Linked DNA regions of Homo sapiens: regions 2, 3 and 4 are each linked to region 1. Evidence: promoter capture Hi-C in 16 types of primary human blood cells and fetal thymus (Javierre and others, 2016). All regions are on one chromosome and are shown on one strand. Each heading gives the region's core, a stretch centred on a gene start or on the middle of the fragment in contact. The rest is flanking DNA. Distances are from core to core; before and after follow the strand shown.

Region 1 (2,700 bases), core at 110-2,609:
ACTAAAAATACAAAAAAATTAGCCATGCTTGGTGGCAGGTGCCTGTAGTCCCAGCTACTCAGGAGGCTGAGGCAGGAGAATGGCGTGAACCCAGGGGGCGGAGCTTGCAGTGAGCCGAGATCGCACCACTGCACTCCAGCCTGGGAGACAAAGACAGACTCAGTCTCAAAAAAAAAAAAAAAAAAAGATTTCCTCCCATGAAGTAAGCCAGAATAAACTCATACCTACTAAATTCTTTCTAAAATCTTTTCTAAATTGACACTCTTGAGAAAGAATAGAGCTTGGAGGAAGAGCTATTATTATAATTAATAGCACAATAATCAGTTTGTCATTAAACCACTTAGGTCTCTTTGTAACAAGATTTCTAAGCTTTAGTAGATGGATTCCTTATTCTATTCTATTTTATATTGTTTTGTTTTGTTTTATTTTATTTTATTTTTCGAGACAGTCTAGCTGTGTCACCCAGGCTGAAGTGCAGTAGTGCGATCTCGGCTCACCGCAACCTCTGCCTCCTGAATTGAAGTGATTCTCATTCCTTAGCCGACCAAGTAGCTGGGACCACAGGTGTGTGCCACCATGCCCAGCTAATTTTTTGTATTTTTAGTAGAGACGGGATTTCACCATCTTGGCCAGGGTGGCCTCAAGTGATCTGCCCGCCTCAGCTTCCCAAAGTGCTGAGGTTACACGCATGAGCCACCGTGCCCAGCCACTTATTTTATTTCATTTTTTAAATTTATTATTATTATTATTATTTTGAGACTGAGTCTTGCTCAGTCGCCCAGGCAGGAGTGCAGTGGTGTGATCTCGGCTCACTGCAACCTTCATCCCCTGAGTTCAAGTAATTCTCCTGCCTCAGCCTCCTGAGTAGCTGGGACCACAGGCAGGTACCACCACACCTGGCTAATTTTTGTTATTTTAGTAGAGATGGGGTTTCGCTATGTTGGCCAGGCTGGTCTTGAACTCCTGACCTCGTGATCTGCCTGCCTTGGCCTCCCAAAATGCTGGGATTAAAGGCATCCTGTTACTAATTTCACAGGATTTTAGAAACGCAAGCAGCGTTGTGGAGTCAATGGGGGAGGGCAAAGAACAGGAGGAGAGATCTGTGAGAACGGGATCGGCGAGGAGGCGACGGGGAGGAGGCGACGCGGAGGGGTGAGGGGTCCTCTCCGCCGCCAGGCGGAGTTGGGAGCCGGACGATCCCGCACGCAGCGCGAGGCGGGACCCCGGACTGACTACATTTCCCAGTCTCCGTCGCTCCGCGCGGCCCACCCCTTCGGCTCTGGGCCCCGCCTCGTGGTGCCGGCTGGTTCTTCGCGCTCGCCCGACTTCCCAGCGGCCCCGTGCGGCCCGGGCATGCCCAGTGCGGGCGCAGCGGCCCCGGCCCTGGAAGCGCCCCGGCGGAGCTGGCCTGCGGTGGGCTAGGGGCAGGGCCGGAGCCGCGGCGGCGGAGCTGTGGGTAGGTGCGGGCTCAGCCGAGCTAGGCCTCGGGGCCGCCGCGCCGCCCATTCTGAGTGGCAGGGACCGGGAGGGCAGGCAGGGCCCGAGCGTGGGTTGGTGGGGCTACCGGCGAGGACCCCTTATGGGAAGGGGCCGGAGGGAGCGGGACGGGGCCGGGCACATCCCCGGGCGAGGCTGCCCCAGGTGCGGCGCAGCTATCTTTAGCTCCCTGTGTGACCCGGAGCGTGCGTGATCCGCACCTCGCGTGATCCGTACCTCGTGCACAGTTGTGCCTAGGGAGACCAGTTTTCTGCCGAATTGCCTAGGAGCTGTGGGGAGATGGGCCTGAATGGACCCGTGGACTCAGAGGCAGCCCGTGGAGCCCCGTGGGAAGTGAGGATGTTTACCTTCCCTGTACCTGGAGTGGGCTACGACAGCTTCCTGTTTGCCGAGACTTGGGTTTAGTGACTTAGAAATAAAAGTGTGTCTCAGCAGATGCTTATTAGCTTCTAATGACTGTTGGGAATTTAATGGCATTTGTATTTCCAGGTTTGAGAGGTTATTTGTCCATGGGATGCTCGTGTTAAAACAAAAATCTTCATTGCAAAGCTTAAGTAAAAACAAGTCTCGACCGAGGTAACGTTAGAACACCGGGTTCTGAGGTTCACTGTAGCTGCCATTCATTTGCTGTCAGTCTGGGCAAGTCATTTAACTTCTGAGACTGGGTTCTCTCACCTGTTAAATGAGCCAGATGCATCTTCATCTGTCTAGCTCAGCTGTAGGATTCCCCCTGTGTCATTCAGTCTGTGTGTGTGTTCTCAAATTGTGGCAGGTTATTTTTCCCCATGCCTCAGCTATTTGTCAGACTGGGTAATTCACCAAATATTCCTGTAGGAAGGATGTTAGGATCTAAGTATAAAAGTGAAGTGATTTATCCTTCATAGGTCACTCTTAGGAGGTGTCCTGCCACTTGGTACATGCAGAAACCAGGTGTTAGCTGGCCAGGGATCAAATGACACAGCTGTTGTGGACTGAGACAGAATGTTTCAGGTTCCCTGTCAGTTCCCTGTGAGAAATCCAGGCCAAGTAATGGGCTTCCTTAAACCTCCAAGCTGGCTCACTTTGGTGGGGTTGTGTTTATATAGAATTTTAAGTTTTTTTCATGCTGTTGTGCCCTATTAGATGCAAGAAACCTATGAAGAAGTTTAGTACCCTTAATTTATAGATGAGCCAGTGGCAGGTTACGGGAGTGGATCTGTGAGT
Region 2 (2,700 bases), core at 148-2,647, 630 kb after region 1:
AACAGAAATATCTCAAGGCTTCTTGCCTGAAAGGATCCTAAGGCCACAACCAACAGGGGCATCTATGCAGACAGCCACCTAGGCTGGTCACTCGCTGGGGGACAGCAAGATGAAGGGATCCCTAAGAGAGGACATCAAGAGACGCCTAAGGGAGTGGGGGATGGAGAGGAAAACTCAGAGTTCTATAATAATTTGCCTTGCTTTCGTCCTTGGTTCCTGGGAGAGAGAACCTAAATCCTTGGAATTTCCCAAGTGATGTTAACATTTTTTGTTATTCATGATGAGCCCTAATAGTTTACGCTATTAAATGTGAGGACTCACGGTGGGGCTTTAGTTTCAGGATGGGTAGTTTCAGGCTGGCCATGCAAAAAGACCGACCATGTGATTAGAGGGTTGGCACTTTGAACCCAGCAGAACCGAGTTCAACAATGTAGCCAATTGTTCAACCACGACAACATAATGAAACCCCAATAAAAACTCTGGACACCAGGGCTTGGGTGACATTCCTGGCTGGTGATGCACATCCATGTGTTGGGAGGGTGACACGGTGGGCAGAGGACACGGTAGCTTCATGCTGGAGACTCTCCCAGACCTTGCCCATGCATCTCTTCTTTTAGCTGGTCCTGATTCATATCATTTTATTGCTACAGCAAAACCATAATAGTAAGCATAGCTAGTGCTTTGCTGAGTTCTGGGAGTCATTCTAGTGAATGATCAAACCTGAGGGGTTTGTGAACACTCTTGAATTCATAGCTAGTTGGTCAGAAGTACAGGTGGCTGGAAAACCCCAGAGCTTGCAGCTGGTGTCTGAAGTGAGGCAAGTCCTGTGGAATGTGCCATTAACTTGTGACATCTGGCCTAACGCTGGGTAGCTGGTGTTTGAATTACATTGCCCTGAGCCAGCAGATTTTGCTCCGCACTGGGAGAAGCTGTCTGCACCCACATGGCATGCTTTGCACAAGCACAAGCAGGAGGCCATGTTTTTGTATATCCTACCAGGCACTCTGGCTAAAAGCAGTCCAGAGAGCCAAGGAGAGCAGACCTAGAAAACATGGTGGGAGGCTGCTCTATTTGCCTGTCTTGTTTAAAACAGGTACCCCCTCCCACACTGCTCTATCCCCAGGAACCTGGGGATGGTCTCAACACCCCGTTGTGAGTTTGGTTTCTGGTGGGAACTAGCAGGTTGCCTATGATCCTATTTCTAACCCACTATGCCCTTCCACCTCCCAGACCTATCCCATCATAGCTGAAGGGTGGGGACGGTGAAATTGGTGCTCAGGAGATATTAGAATTAAAGAGGGAAGTGCATTTTAAGAGAAGGGTTTTAGATGGAACTGGCAAAGAATTAGTGGCTAATTGGATTTGGGGACTGGTGCGAGGGAGGAGTTAAGGGTGATTCCCAGGTCTCTGGTGATGCCATCTAAACTAAGGCAGGTAAGAGGACAGGAGCAACAGGCCCGGAGAGGGAGCTCCCAAGGGGAGACGATCACAGGCAGATGGATGTGAAGATAAGGAGCTCAAGGGGGAGATCAAGGTCAGAGACAGACTAGCGAGTCGTCAGCACACAGGTAGAGGCTTCCCAAGTTGGCCCAGCTCTCCCTCTGGGAGAGGGGCAGGATGCCAAGATGGAGCTCTGGGGGGCACCATGCTGGGGCCCTTCAAGGAGCCTGGAAGGAGGTCAGACAAGGAGATGCAGGAGGAGTTCATGGAATCAAAGCGAGTGAGGAGCTCAGAGTGGGCAATTCGGTTATCAAATGCAAAGACGTGTGATACGAGGATTGAGAAAGTGCTCTGTGGGCTTATTAGGTTGGGCATGCCTAGCACAGAAAAAAACCAGCTACCCAAAAGCTGCCTCCTGGAGCAGAAGAGCCAGTGCTGCCACCAGAAGGGGCACTGGGAGAGCCGGCCTCCCCCCTCTGCTGAGCACAAGCACCTCCCAGAGCTCACAGCAAACAAAATCCCTACGTGGGCAAGGAGCTGCTGCTTTTCATGGCAAGCCTTTAGTTCTTGATTTTTCATTTTGATTTTTTCTTATTCTTTTTTTAACCAGAGTCATTTGAGCAGAATAGTTCTTGATTTTTTAAATCATGTGCACATAGAACTTTGATAAAAATAGAAATTTAAGAAGCCCATTTTCTTATACTAATTACTGTATATGACTTAACACTAAATCATATCTTTTAGCTGGCTCTAATCAGTATTTCAAAATAGATGCAGTTCATTTTAGGCACATTCCAACCTCCTTTGCTGTGTAACCCATTTCTCAGGCCACACTAACCTGGGGTAAAATTCCTCTTATATTATTGTCAGTAATTAAAGATAGCCACTGGGCCAGGCACGGCGGCTCATGCCTGTAATCCCAGCACTTTAGGAGGCTGAGGCAGGTGGATCACCTGAGGTTGTGAGTTTGAGACCAGCCTGACCAACATGGAGAAACCCCATCTCTACTAAAAATACAAAATTAGCCGGGCATGGTGGCACATGCCTGTAATCCCAGCTACTCGGGAGGCTGAGGCAGGAGAATCGCTTAAACTCGGGAGGCAGAGGTTGTGGGGAGTGGAGATCACGCCATTGCACTCCAGCCTGGGCAACAAGAGTGAAATTCTGTCTCAAAAAAAAAAAAAAAAAAAAAAAAAAGATAGCCACTGTACCTAGCAAGACCTGCTGCTCAGGCAGTCCAGATCCCACTAAGAATCAGAG
Region 3 (2,700 bases), core at 183-2,682, 650 kb after region 1:
GAAAGCAGAATACCTGGAGAAAACCCACACAGACATGGGGAGCATGCCAACTCCACACAAACGGGTAGCCTCAGCCAGGAATCACTTATTCTCTCATCAATGTTATGAAAAAACGATGTTGAACAAAAAGACTTTTTTTGAGAGTCTGCTGTATCTTCTTGTTGCTAAATAGTTGGTTTGTTATTCTTTCTTGGTTTTCCCCTCATGTTTGGCCTGTTGATTTCTTGTTGTGATAGATTTGTATTTAGCTCTTGCATCCCACCACTTTCCTATTTTTCCATGCCCTCTATCCCCTAATATAGTTCTATTGTAATTTTTTGCTAAAACAGGTAGCTTTTATGTACTTACACCTCTGTCAAATACTGTTCACTGTTGAGCTGGATGATCTATTACAGTGTGTTCCTCCTGGTGTGTAGGTTGGCCTTCACCTGTGTTTTTCATGTACCTACTGTTAATTTTTTTCCCACATGCTCCAATGTATTTGTCACATTCTTATCAGTAACATTTTCTGTGAGCTCAAATGTATCACCTGTTTATTGGAGCCCTGCCCCCTCCTCCTGCCTTTACTGTTGCTCTCAAGAACTGCTGCCTGGGGTCCTCCTGGACCTGCCCTTTCCTGTGCAGGAACCGTATCTTCCTCTTTCTGGGCTTATGTCTTTATTTTTTAAAAGCATATACTTCAGTTATTTCTAAGAAGTATTTGAATGACCTGGTTTTGCCCACACACTTGTTTGATAGTTTGGCAGTTATATAATTCTAGATTGGAAATAAGGTTCTCTCAGAATGTTGAAGGCATCTGTAATTGCTCTAGAGATGTGGTGATTTAAATCCTTCTTACGTGACCGTATTTTGTTTGTTTTCTCCCCTTCTGGAAGCTTTGAGGATATTCTCTATCTCTGGTGTTCTGCAGTTTTATGATGTGTATTAACACCAGGGTATGGGTCTTTTACTCAGCTGTTGTGCTGGCTTCTCACAGACGGTTTTGATTCTGGAAATTCACGTCCTCTAGTTCCGGGATGTTTTCTTGTACTATTTCTGTGATTTTTTGCTCAATCTTTAATTTTTCTTTGATACCTTTTTGTAATATCCATTCTTGTTATGTGGATATGGTGGGCTCAGAGGGCCCGCTGGAGTATTTGAGTTTTCTTCCTCTCTGCACAGGCTCCACTTCCTTCAGGTGATGTGGGCCTTTGCACCTGTGCCTCTGTCTGGATGTGTCTTCCCTCAGATATCCAGCGACTTGCTCCCACACCTCACTTTGGATGAATCCACAAGTCTTTCCTTAAATGTCACCTCAGTGAAGAGAGCACTGGATTGAGAAGTGCAGACCCCCATCTCACTTCCCTGCTTTGTTTCTCTCCAGAAGCATTTCCCACCATCTAGCATCCCACATATTTATTTACTTGTTTCCCTCACCACTAAAATAAACATTCTATGAGGGCAGGGATTTTGGGTTTTTTTTTGTTTACCTCTATAATTCCAGCCTCTGAAACAGTGCCTGGCGATGAATAGATGCTTAATAACTTAAGGAATAAATGAATTATTTTATTGTGGGATTTCTTTGAATGTCTCATGATTCTGACTGTTCATTTCTGTTTTGTTTTTTGTTATTTTAAGTTCCCAGCGTGGGTCTTGTTGGGTGGTGGCCATTACTATAGGGTGGCTGGTATATATGGATTTTGTGTGTATGTTTGTACAAATGTATATGTTTGCTAATATTTCTTTAGCTGACAGTGCATTGGTTGCTGGGACAAGGATGGAGGCTTGGAGAACCTTTTAGTATGCATCTTTTGACATAATCTGTATTTTCAGTTCTTCATTGCTCCTGCTGATGTATTTTACTCCAGACCCATTTCAGATTTCGGTTCATTTTTCTTTAAACCTCTGGATTTGGGGGTGGAGAAAATAGATGAAAATAGGAGGTGAGGAAGAGAATTTGCGCATTAGTTAAATAGACTTTATGCCAATCCGTATTTTCAGATCTGCATTTAAAGCTTGCTTTCCATCTCCAAAAATTCATTGAAAAATTGAATGCTTATCTCCTGCACCTCACATTCTTGGTTTTATACCTTGAAAAAAGAAAAACTCCTCTGTTGCCATTTTAATAGCGTACTTTGAAAAAGATTAAGAAGTAAACACGTAAGGACAGAAGTTATCATGTTTTATATTCTTAGTGTCATGGAATGCAGCACAGGAATATCACATAAGGAAAAGCACAGATTTCTTGTTTTCCTCGTTTATTTTGGAAGCTTATCCTTCAGCTCTTGTTTATCTTTTTTTTTTTTTTTTTTTTTTTTTTTTTTTTTTTTTTTTGAGAGTCTCTCTCTGTTGCCCAGACTGGAGTGGGCATGATCATGACTCACTGCAGCCTCGACCTCCTGGGTTCAAGCAATCCTCCCACCTCAGCCTCCCAAGTAGCTGGGACCATAGGCATATGCCACCACATCTGGCTAAGTTTTTTATTTTTGTAGAGACAGGGTCTCCCTATTGTTTATATGCCTTAAGAGTCAAATTAACAGAGTACATAAGAAACACTCTCTTTTTAGCTCTCTTGCTAAGGAGCAGGTTTGAGATCTGTTGCCAGAACTTAGTACTTCGCAGTTTTATGGATTCCTCAGGAGTCTCGTCCATGGGGCTGGGGCGTGGCTACCCTCTGCTGACTCTTCCTAGGTTCCTGCTCTTCCCCAGCACCTCCCTACC
Region 4 (2,700 bases), core at 99-2,598, 900 kb before region 1:
CATGGGTGTTCATTTTATTGTGTCATTGTTACATATAATTTTGTACATCTCAAGCATTACATGGTAAACATGGGCACAGGGAGAATGACTTAAAGGAAAAACGTCAGGATACGCAACCAAGTAGAGTACTAATGAATGAAAAATGTGATCAATGTTAATGAAGGTGATGTAACAATAAGACCCAAAGGAGGAGATAAAATACTGACACTAAAATAAACAGCCTTTAACTGAAAACCTAATAAAATATCTTTTCCCCACCTCATAAGATGGATCTCAAAGGTCACTGAGTGGAGATAAGAGTCAGGAAATGGCATACAGAGTGCTAGCATTTTGCACTTTTGTTAGACTCTGAACAATCATTTATGGGCTGCAGTTTGTCTGAATCTAGGTACTTTTCCGGCTCTCAGGTAGAGCAGGAGTCATTTTTCTGCACGCTGTTCTCCTACCCCAACTATCATTTCTTAACAGGGATCTCTGGGGTCCACTCTTTGAGTGTTTTGAAACAGAAAGGAAGAAATCCAACATTATCACTTTAGTTTGCATTATCAGACAGATTGCACCTTCTGCTTTCTCCATACTGTGACCCAGTGTCCAGCCTAGGGTATTCGAATGGCAAGATCTGACCTGCGCAACAGCCAAAGGGAGCCACCAGCCTCCCCTATGCCACTCACATTTTCCCACCACCAATATCTGTAAGCGGTACCAGAAATCAAAACTGAGCCTTAAATAGTCAGAGCTAGTGAGGGGGTTGTATTTCTTAGCCCTGATAACCACTTAAACGAGTAAAATTTAATTCCCCTAAGGAACCCCGCCTGAAGCAAACCCTCCCCAAGGGCACCACTGAGGGGGTAGCGCTGAAATGTTTTGGAAGATTCAGTCACCTGTTTCCAAATATTACCTAACTAGCTTCGCCTCCTTCCCTCCGAGCTCCCCTGCAGTTACTCCAGGACCCCGAAGGCCTCTTTCTGGGCACATTTGGGCCTCCCCACTCAGACAAGCCGCACTTTCTCCCTGCTCACAGGCTGCATGTCAGGGATGGTAAGTGGGGGGTGGAGAAAGTGGAGAGGCCGGGGTTCAACCCAGCAGACTCCTGCAGACCGGGCCTCGGTCGGAGACGCGAGCCCCTAGCCTAGCTAGGTTCCTTCGTCGACCTTGAGAAAGGGGCGCGGATCCGTGTCCCGCAGAGGACACGGGGTCTCGGAGCCCGCACAGGCTGAGGGGCAGGGGTCCGGCCGAGCCGGGCCGCCTCACCTGCACTTCTGTCGGCCCACAGGATTAATGGCAGCACCAGCCCGAGTACAAGCCCCGGCGCGACCATGCTTGCAAGGATCTGACCGCCGCCTAGGACTGGGAAAGTGGGTTCCCGGCAGGGGCGGGGCCTGGGCGGGGGCGAGGCCGACTCCACCCTTTTGCAGTCCTCGCAGCCTCCCGCGACCTCAGGACTGGGCTGTACTCGCCCCTTCTCGGCCGCCGTAGTTTTTTTTTTTTTTTAAAGAAAAAACGGTTACCCAGCAACTAGAAAAACAACCGGAACCGGCGGCACCAGCTCGGAGAGAAAGGAGGTGAGGCCGCTTCCCCACTTCCTCTCCGATACCAAGACCTAGCCTTTTCCCTTCGTCTCTCTTATTCTCTCAGCATCCCAGACACAGCCTCGGAGCCCTGGGCCGTTTGGGAGCCGAGGCAGCCCATTCTGCGCGAGTCTGAAATCCCAGGTCCTCAACATCCCGCCCCCGACTAGACCCGTCTGCCCCCTCCGCCCGCCCTCCTCTGCCCACATTGGTTCAGAATCTCGCCAGCTCTTTTCACCACTCTAGAATGGTTCGATACCCCCATCTACTGCTCCCTCAGAAAAAGCAAAAGAGAGGAGTCAGGCGTGGTGGCGCGCGCCTGTAATCCCAATTGCTCGGGAGGCTGAGGCGGGATCATCGCTGGAGCCCAGGAGTTCGAGGCCAGAGACCCCCTCTCAAAGAAAAAAAAAGCGATGAAACGAGAACCCTCCATAGTCTGAGCCTCATTAAACCGTCCAGTTCTCCCAACCTGGACCCCTACCACGGCCTCCGCCTCTATTCCGCATTGACGCACACTCTCACATTAACAGGCCAGGTCCCGGAGGATTCTTTTCATACTCAGTAGTAGCTCAGCCCGCTGCTTAGCAGCTACCCTTAATCTAGCCCTTGTATTTCAAGACAGAAAGAGACAACCTGATCAAGAAGAAACCGAAAAATATAAGAATTCTAAAACTTTAGAGGCTGGGATTTCAAAATCATGACACACAGCCCCATCCCATCCCATCCCTCCCTCACACACACGCACGCACAACCCCATTCCACAGTACGAAGGTGTTCGAAGCATTGTGGGTCATGCTTCAGAAGTGGCAGCAAGGGGAAAGATTGTGCAACTTCTTCATTCAACAAATTAATTTCTAGAACCAGGACTAATTTCTACTCTTTAAAAAAAAATAGACCTCAAAGAAGGTCTTCTCAGCAATTGACAATGAATTTAACTTTTTAGCAATCATTCTCTCTAAATTCCTGTGTGATAGCAAAAATTACCCTTACCTTTTGAGCATATAAAGGGTAAAGAGAGAAAAAGTCATATTGAAAATTATGGGTTTTTTGCAGGATTTTAAATGATTTGGCCTAGTGAATGGGTCTGTGTTTGTATTATACTAATTCACAATGGAGATTTCAAAACTCTTTG

What was found. Contacts are between HindIII fragments. The CHiCAGO score rates a contact against its expected background, and 5 or more counts as called.
Region 2: a fragment that was not itself captured here is called in contact with the fragment with the promoter of EI24 in region 1 in 2 of 17 cell types (naive CD8 T cells and total CD8 T cells); the score reaches 5.4 in naive CD8 T cells.
Region 3: a fragment that was not itself captured here is called in contact with the fragment with the promoter of EI24 in region 1 in 2 of 17 cell types (activated CD4 T cells and total B cells); the score reaches 6.2 in activated CD4 T cells.
Region 4: a contact is called between the fragment with the promoter of SIAE here and the fragment with the promoter of EI24 in region 1, in 2 of 17 cell types (non-activated CD4 T cells and naive CD8 T cells). The highest score is 6.5, in non-activated CD4 T cells.

The regions. Positions count from the first base shown.
Region 1 is chr11:125,568,118-125,570,817 of GRCh38, forward strand. It overlaps EI24 (EI24 autophagy associated transmembrane protein), which reads left to right and starts at 1,360. Exons shown (of 11, transcript NM_004879.5): 1 at 1,360-1,456. STT3A-AS1 (STT3A antisense RNA 1) reads right to left here. Exons shown (of 4, transcript NR_132372.1): 3 at 2,173-2,325; 4 at 1. RefSeq lists enhancers at 1,024-1,525, 2,028-2,077 and a silencer at 1,028-1,587. The HindIII fragment of the contact is 1,677 bases long and covers 368-2,044 here.
Region 2 is chr11:126,196,911-126,199,610 of GRCh38, forward strand. No RefSeq gene overlaps it. Among named protein-coding and RNA genes, the nearest start is that of RPUSD4, 13 kb to the right of the region's middle. The HindIII fragment of the contact is 5,671 bases long and covers 1-2,700 here.
Region 3 is chr11:126,217,077-126,219,776 of GRCh38, forward strand. The region is part of intron 1 of FAM118B (family with sequence similarity 118 member B); the gene reads left to right. Among named protein-coding and RNA genes, the nearest start is that of FAM118B, 6.6 kb to the left of the region's middle. The HindIII fragment of the contact is 1,119 bases long and covers 874-1,992 here.
Region 4 is chr11:124,672,391-124,675,090 of GRCh38, forward strand. It overlaps SIAE (sialic acid acetylesterase), which reads right to left and starts at 1,349. Exons shown (of 10, transcript NM_170601.5): 1 at 1,252-1,349. The coding sequence starts at 1,318. It overlaps SPA17 (sperm autoantigenic protein 17), which reads left to right and starts at 1,514. Exons shown (of 5, transcript NM_017425.4): 1 at 1,514-1,562. RefSeq lists silencers at 1,285-1,404, 1,377-1,535 and an enhancer at 1,445-1,624. The HindIII fragment of the contact is 8,074 bases long and covers 1-2,700 here.